2 separate regions of the Homo sapiens genome follow, and region 2 is linked to region 1. Evidence: promoter capture Hi-C in human tissues and cell types (Jung and others, 2019). All regions are on one chromosome and are shown on one strand. Each heading gives the region's core, a stretch centred on a gene start or on the middle of the fragment in contact. The rest is flanking DNA. Distances are from core to core; before and after follow the strand shown. Region 1 holds the start of IGIP (IgA inducing protein). Region 2 has its middle 75 kb from the start of HSPA9.

Region 1 (4,076 bases), core at 679-3,178:
TTACATCAGAATATAACTTAATACTGTCAGCAACAGGGACCACACACAGTAAATAAGAAGCACATTTAAAATAAGTCTGATTTCACATAGATTAACATTTGTTGGTTAATAAAATATCGACAGTATTACAATCTTACAATATTTACAGTAAGAAAAATCTAGAGTAATATATACCTTTCACAGCAGGATTCCTTTTTTTAAAATTTCTTCCAGTTTGGGATTGTGTATACACAAAAAGCTCAAAATAAAGCAACTCTGCAATATAATCTTAAAATAATGGCTACTGGGGGAAATTCTATCACAACCATTGAAAATAATGGTGACTTCTCACGGAGTCTGTGGCATCTGAGAACCCAGTTAATTAACCAAAGTCTTGCTCATATTAGCCTCAGTTACCCAGATTAAAGCAGAACTCCGGCCTTCCCTGACTGCTGAAAACCCAACAGATTTTCTCAACATGCTATAAGGAAAGAGGAAAAATTGGTTTCAGCTCACACCTCATGGCTGGAAGCCTCTGGAAGCCTCCAGCCAGTGCACACTCCCCAACTTATGCTAAAAGAGGGCCAATTTCATCCCCACAGCATCACAAGAGTCCACCCTCCAACCACACAGTGCTCTGACACCAAGCTCACCCATTCCTCAACTCTTGTGCCTTAGGATAACACATGAACTTAGCCCACATAATACACACCAGCGTCTTAGAGACTTGAGACCAGGGCAAAGAAACAGACTAGTGTAGTTTGCACTGAGATCAGTAAGAAAAATGGGAAGTGATGCACATTTCCAATTAGAATGACAAGAAGAAGACCCACATCCCTAAACTGGAATTTGGCCAGGGCATCAGAGTTAGCACCCCCTCTCTGAGTACCGCTAGCGATTAGGATGTGTGCTCTGGGCCTCCTCTAAAAGAGAGCATCTACAGTAAGTAACACAGTATGGGACATTAGTTCAGTGACGACTGCCAAGAAAGCAGATACAATTCTTGAATCTGGGGCTGTCTACGGCACCTGAGGTCAATCATCCAAGCTGTGACCTGTCCCAACCCTGCTTACTTTAAGATATCTGATGGGCACAGAGCACTCAGGGATATGGCTGCTGGCTACTTTGGACTCTAGATCTCACAGGTAATCAACAGGTATCTGGGATTGAATTAGCAAACTGTACCATAGCTCCTTAAACAGACATTGTCAAGTCTGAAATCATGTCAAGCATGAATCTTCACTGTCAGGTCAGTAATCAAAGTGGGAGTCTTCCCACATCAGCCAAGGTTATTTTGTCAGAACCTTAGAGGAGTTGGACAGTTTTTCATGTTGCAAGTGATTGGTTTACTTATTTCAGTCAAGCTGGATTGGCAAACCAGACTGATTTATTTAGTGAGCTTTGTTTTTTTGATTCTTATGTGTGTGCTAACCCAAAGCTGTTGTATTTGGGCTAAATACACTGACAGAGAAAATTCAAACGACAAAAGTTTTCAGCAAACTTCTGTGGCATTTTTTCTTTTTGGAAGTAAATGCAAGATCTAAAGGTATTTCTACCCAACAACGTCTGTTTAAGTGTTTAATGTTATTTCCTTTTTGGTCCTATACAGAATGCTATGACTTCTATATAGGTCTGAATGCTGCTCCATGTAGATTCCTTCTGTATATCTAAAAATATATACTTTTCAGTAGTTCAATACATGGTTAATCTTCCCACAGAGGAAGATTTTTGTAATCACATGTTGCAAAGTAGAAAACATCTCCTTTCTAAGAAAGGAAATATACTTTCCTATTGTACACTTTTGAATAAGCCCAAAGGCATGCACCAAAAATCATTAATAAAACTAATACATGCAATAAAATGGTGTAGAGTTAGACTTAAAGTGCTGCTTCTCAATTTTTTTTAATTTGAAGAAGACATTTTGTCAGTTGTAGACTCAAAAATCTTTCCCCCACCCACCCTCCCCACCCCATGGCATTAAGAGAGAAAAGTAAAAAGTATGCATAAATCTTTTAACTATGCTTTACATGGGGGAAAGAACAGATGTATCAACTATCCTATATATCAACTGGATTCCCAGTTTTAAATAAAACCAATATTTACTGGTAAAAATTGTCAAAGCGAATACACGCAAACAAATGTTACTAGTAAATAAATGTTCTACATAGAGAATAATTTACTTTGGTTTTATGCGCCTTCTCAAAAATAACACTAGTGTCCCAACGTCACCAAACTGATGTGTTCCAGCAAAGTTGTAAGGCAAATCTTTTTTTCCCTAGTGACATCTTGTTTCCCAACAGACAAAACTAAAATCTTTTGGTGAGGAAGGGGTTAAGATAATGGCTAACCCCTTGGCATCCTGAGCATTGTGGTTTATCAAACTCTACCCTGCTAGAAATTGTCAGGCACCCTGACCCCTGCCTTGAACCAGGAAGGCTCCCATGTCTAGAGATGCCCTGACTCCTTATAAATAGCTTTCAGAACTTTGCTTTTTTCCCTTCTCTCTGGTTGTTATAATGTCTAACGAAGCTGGTTGCAATGTCACATTTTGCTAGTAGGGGCCACCATCTAACAATAATTCCAATATGAAAGGTTTTAAGCCAATAGTTGGTTCCTAATTTTATCAACGATTTGCACTAAAATTCTCTACAATTTACTTAGAGCAGAGATCTTTAACTTGGGTTTCAGAAGATGTGTGATGCCCCTGAAGTTGTATGCAAAATTATCCAGGGATGGGCATTTTTTTTTTCTTGGGTAGAGGATCCATCACACTGTCATCAGATTATCAAAGATATCTGTGACCCCCAAAAAGGGTTATAGGGACTTAGAGGGATACCCGTAATTCATTTTATACCAGGACTGGGAAATGGGGGCAGAAAACTAAAAATGGCCTCGAAAAAGGCCAGGGACAAATTGCTGATCTTTTCCCTTTATTCACATTGGGAAAATAAGTGCTTCAAACTGGAAAAATCATTAATTAAGCTGGTTAAACTCCATTAAAAAATAATCAAATCGCTTTCTAAATTTTTTTCATTTTCGATATGTGGTAAATTTTGTCTCCAAGAAAAGGTTTGGAGACTGAATTTTTCTCTTTTCCTAAAGGAAATTCATAGATAGAATGCTGAATATCATCCACATTTAAAGATTTGACAACATAAAAGTTAGATAACTCTTAATGATGTGAATCTTTAACTTATGATTTTGAGTAAAGGATTATCTAGAATCAAATATACACTTATTAATCTTCATTTCCCAAAATTGGTCCATATTTAGACAACTACCTGGCACAATTTCACTAGATAAACCTAAAATCTGAACAATGGAAGTTAAACTTCTACCCAAAGTAAAAACAAAGCCATAAGATTCCACAATTGAATTGGCCACAAACATTCACACTATGTTATAAAGGACTTTCTCATTTCAAATACATCACTGAATGTTCAACAGAATTTGCAAACATAAGATCCAGAATGACTAGCAAAACATGCTAAGAGCATGTCAAAAAGTAAAACACCACCTCTCCCCCCCCAATCTGGAAACACACTCAGGCATTCCAAAAATAAACCAGATCTGAAAAGAGGCCTCTCACTTGGTTTTAAGTATGAGGTGTGTACAAAGCTATGGGAAAGGGAATATAAAATGAAATAACCAAATAACTTACAAAAAATAATTTTAGCCAAAAACACATCTCTCTGTTCCATTGATAAAACTATCAATTTTTAAATTTTTTTGCAATTCTGAACACTGTGTTGCATAATATCACCAAGACAAAAAATATGTTCACAGGTACACTTTTTGTTATTTTCTTTCTAGAGCACATCTTTGAGGTCATAAGACCGCATCTGGTTAAAATAAAGTCTCTTGCCCTTGCTTCCCTTCCCCCTCAAAGTGATTCAACCCTGAATTCCAAAAAGGAATATTCAATATAACAACTTGAAAACCAGTTGTAACACTTAGACCATAAGGAAACTATATGAACATTATGGAAAACTACATGAAAGAGGGAGCTGCCACTTGCCACCCACTTCACTTCCAGCTTTTTAAGCATGTACCCAGCTAGACTCCTATCTCACTGACTTCAGTGAAACAAACTAACA
Region 2 (3,601 bases), core at 766-3,265, 1.5 Mb after region 1:
GTCTCAAAAATATATAATAATAATAATAATAATAATAATAGCTCACGAGCACAAAGCTATTGTATCAGCAGGGACAATCCCCACTTCCCAGACAAATGAGATCAAGATTATGGTCAGAGGTGTGTTTAGGGAGATTACCATGGCAACGAGGTAAAGGATGATGGACTAAGAGTAGGGGCACGCTAGAGGGAGACTGGTTAGGAGATGGTGGCAGAAATCCAGGTGAGAAGTGATGAGGCCCCACTCGAACCAAGGTGGTGGCTGTGTGGCTGTGGTGTAAAGAAGAGAGATGCTACAGGGGAGAATGAATGAAGGAAGGACAGGGATGTCTTTTTCAAACAACACAGCGCACATACAGGCCCCAGTGGAAGAAGCGGGGTAGAGAGTGGGAAGTGCTGGCGGCTGCGGGGGCAATAAACAATGAGGCCTGCAGGATGAGCAGCCCCTGGAAGCTGCCAGAGTTGCTCACATCCCATCTTCCTGCTCTCCCCCAGTCAGTCAGGCTGGCCCTGCCACTGGGCTCTGTGTGTGTGGGGGTGGGGGCAGGCGGTGGTGCTGGGGCTGGGGAGAAGGGAGAAGTGTCAGCCCTGGCCTCTGGGGCCACATACAGGGAGGTGAGCTATGGGGAGCATCACGGAAGCGTGATTTAGAGTCTCATTCCCACTGCCCTTCACCGTGCTGCAAGGACAGTTCAACGTAATATATAATTACCGCCGCCCCACAAGGCTGCACTGTACACAGAGCTCCCACCTTCCTCCCGCTCCCTCCTGCCTGCCTTCAGACTATAAATCAGTTTTCAATCCTGAATGCTACCTGTAAATGTTCGAGCTCAGGATCCTCGCCTCATATTCCTATGTCCCTGGGGGGTGGTTCAGGATGTGAGTGGCTTCCCCCAGTCCTGATTCTGACATCCCAGCCCCTGATTGATGGTGAGAGGAGCAGCAGGGAAGCTGGAAATGGCTCTAGGGTCTCTGGAGCCCTGGCCTGGGGAGAGGGGTGGGCAGCTCTGGATCTGCCTGACTCAGCCAAGCCTGAACTGGATGCTCCCCAGTGTACAGAACTGTGGACATGCTCCGGACCAATTGGTGGGAAGGCATTGAAACTGACCCCTCCCCGAAAATGGCAACTTCTTTCCAGCCTTGTCAGATGTGCCAGAGCAGGCAGGTGGGCACGTTCACTGGAGTGTCCAAAAGACGGCAGCCTCGCCATAGGCTGATCTGGGGATGAAGAGGCACAGCCATGCCTTTCCCCTGAGCTGGGATGGGAAATCCCATGATGCACCTTTGAGGTGATAAAAGGACAAATCAAGAAAGAAATTCTTGGCCAGGCATTGTGGCTCATGCCTGTAATCCCAGCACTTTGGGAGACCGAGGCAGGCGGATCACCTGGTGAAACCCTGTCTCTACTAAAAATACAAAAATTATCGAGGCATGGTGCCATATGCCTGTAATCCCAGCTACTTGGGAGGCTGAGGCAGGAGAATCTCCTAAAACCCAGAGGAGGAGGTTGCAGTGAGCCGAGATTGTGCCACTGCATTCCAGCCTGAGTGACAGATCAAAACTCTGTCTCAAAAAAAAAAAAAAAAACCACACACACACACACACACACACAGAAAGAAAGAAATTTTTCTTTCTTCCTTTTTTTTTTTTTCTTTTTTAGGAGACAGAGTTGCCCCGGCTGGAGTGCAGTCGTGCGAAGCTGGCTCCCTGAAGCCTCAACTGCAGGTGTGTTATGTGTCCACCATTTACTGATCACCCCATCTGAAGACGGTCCCCCGGCCCTGACCTATTACTTTCTATCTTAGCGCCCTGTTTGTTATGGTACTAGGTATAATTCATATTATTCCATATTGTCTTGTGTCTTCATTTTTTGTGGGTTTTCACTCCTGGAGTGGAAGCTCTGTGAAGGCAGGGGCCACATTGCCTGGTCAACACTGTATTCCAGTTACTTAGCATCAAGCTTCACACATCATGGTGTTAGTTAAATACTCTTTGAATGAACTGAATGCATGGAGCCGGGGTGGGGTGGCTGCCAAAGAGAAGGTCTTCAAAGCTGAGGCTGACTCTGCCTGCTCCCCTGTGGCAGCCCCATCTGCAGACAGCAGCTGGGCAGATTCCTCCTTCCCTAGGAGACCAGGCTTATGACCCCGGGGGAATTGAGAGGCCTCTCCAGACCTTGGCCTCCTTCCTCTCCCTTGGGAAAACTCCAGTTGTGACCCCTCCTAGCTGTCCCCGGAGCTGCCTTCTGAGGACCAGGGGTTAATGGTCAGTGTTTATCACCTCCCACTCCCTGACAAGATCCCCAGGTCACTGGAAAGCTTGGCCCAGCCCAAACTGATACCTTGCATGGGCCAGGGACTCAATCTGGGGACAGCAAAGAGGGACTGAGGAGGAAGCTCCTCCACGCATTATAATATCCATGAAGTGAATGCAAATGAACTGAAAGCACCTTTTGAATAAGCAGCTTTTACTGAGGGAGCTGCTCTAATCCCTAAATGGCTTTGCTGACAGGGAGGAGCTTCCCAGTGGTGGAAGGGGTGGGAAATGGGGACACACTGTCAGGAACCGGCTCTGCAGCGCCCTTGTCCCTGCACTTTTAGATTCCGGACACGCTTCTTGTGGCTAATGGAACTCGGAGATCTCTAACCTTGGCCTCCATATTCCACTCCCTGCCCCCGCCCCCAGAGTCTGCGGAGCCCAGCTTCTGTGTTTCCAGGAGGCTGAGGCTGCTGGGTGCTGGGTCTCAGTGTCGAGTGATTCTCTGGGACTGGAAGCAGCTGAGTGTGCCTCCAGTGATGTAGCCCTGTGGGCTCTCTGGTGACCATGTGAGACATCCCTGGGCCTGTGTGTAAAGGTGTGTGGCCGTGTGCACCAGTGGGTTTGTGTCCATTTACACACCTCCTGGAAACAAGTGTCATTGTGTTTGTGCCTCTGTCTGTCCCCACCCCCACATCTCCATCCATCTGTATTCCTCCCCAGGTTAGCGGGGGCTGGCCTCAGCTGGGGAATCATGCTTTTTCAAGGACTAATGACTTTTATCAGAATGATAATGAACTGATGACACAGGGAGGCCCTGGGCTCTGGAGAGAAGCCAGAGAAGGAGCAGTTGGGGACAGAGAGGAGGCTGGTAGGGTTGGGAGGCTAGAGGACTATGCCTCCCAGAAAGGCCAGCCAGCTCCATTCCTCTTTCAGTGGGGGAAGGAGACAGGGACAGAGGAAACCCAGGGGATGTTGGAAACACATTCTCCATTTCCCTTCCCTGTCCCGCCTGCCTCTTCCTGAACCTTCCATTCCCTGCTTTGCTATTCTTCTCGCCCTCCCAGAGGACTCCCCTTGACTACGGGGCTGTGAGGCTAAAGCTGGCTATTCCCCTCTCCCAGTCTCCTTCACTCTAGCCCTTACTCAAAGCCAGGTCCTGCCCAGAGATGGAGAGGGGAGCTGCTCCTAGAATTCTGAGTGGGCAGAGACACATAGGTGGCCTGAGCAGGTCTTAGAGGACCAGAAACTTGAAAGCTGCCCCTTGGGCATGAAGCTTGTCAAGGCTAATTGGCCTCAATATTCTTTCATAATGAGTGTAGGGCCAGGTGAGTTGTCAGTGGGGA

Evidence for each region. The method cuts DNA at HindIII sites, captures the fragments that hold promoters and counts their contacts. A contact is called where the count stands out against the background at its distance.
Region 2: a contact is called between a fragment that was not itself captured here and the fragment with the promoter of IGIP in region 1, in 1 of the 25 tissues and cell types used here (spleen).

Annotation. Positions count from the first base shown.
Region 1 is chr5:140,123,789-140,127,864 of GRCh38, reverse strand. IGIP (IgA inducing protein) reads right to left here and starts at 1,928. Exons shown (of 1, transcript NM_001007189.2): 1 at 1-1,928. It overlaps PURA (purine rich element binding protein A), which reads right to left. Exons shown (of 1, transcript NM_005859.5): 1 at 2,246-4,076. The HindIII fragment of the contact is 10,247 bases long and covers 1-4,076 here.
Region 2 is chr5:138,648,471-138,652,071 of GRCh38, reverse strand. No RefSeq gene overlaps it. Among named protein-coding and RNA genes, the nearest start is that of HSPA9, 75 kb to the right of the region's middle. RefSeq lists an enhancer at 782-1,580. The HindIII fragment of the contact is 3,444 bases long and covers 294-3,601 here.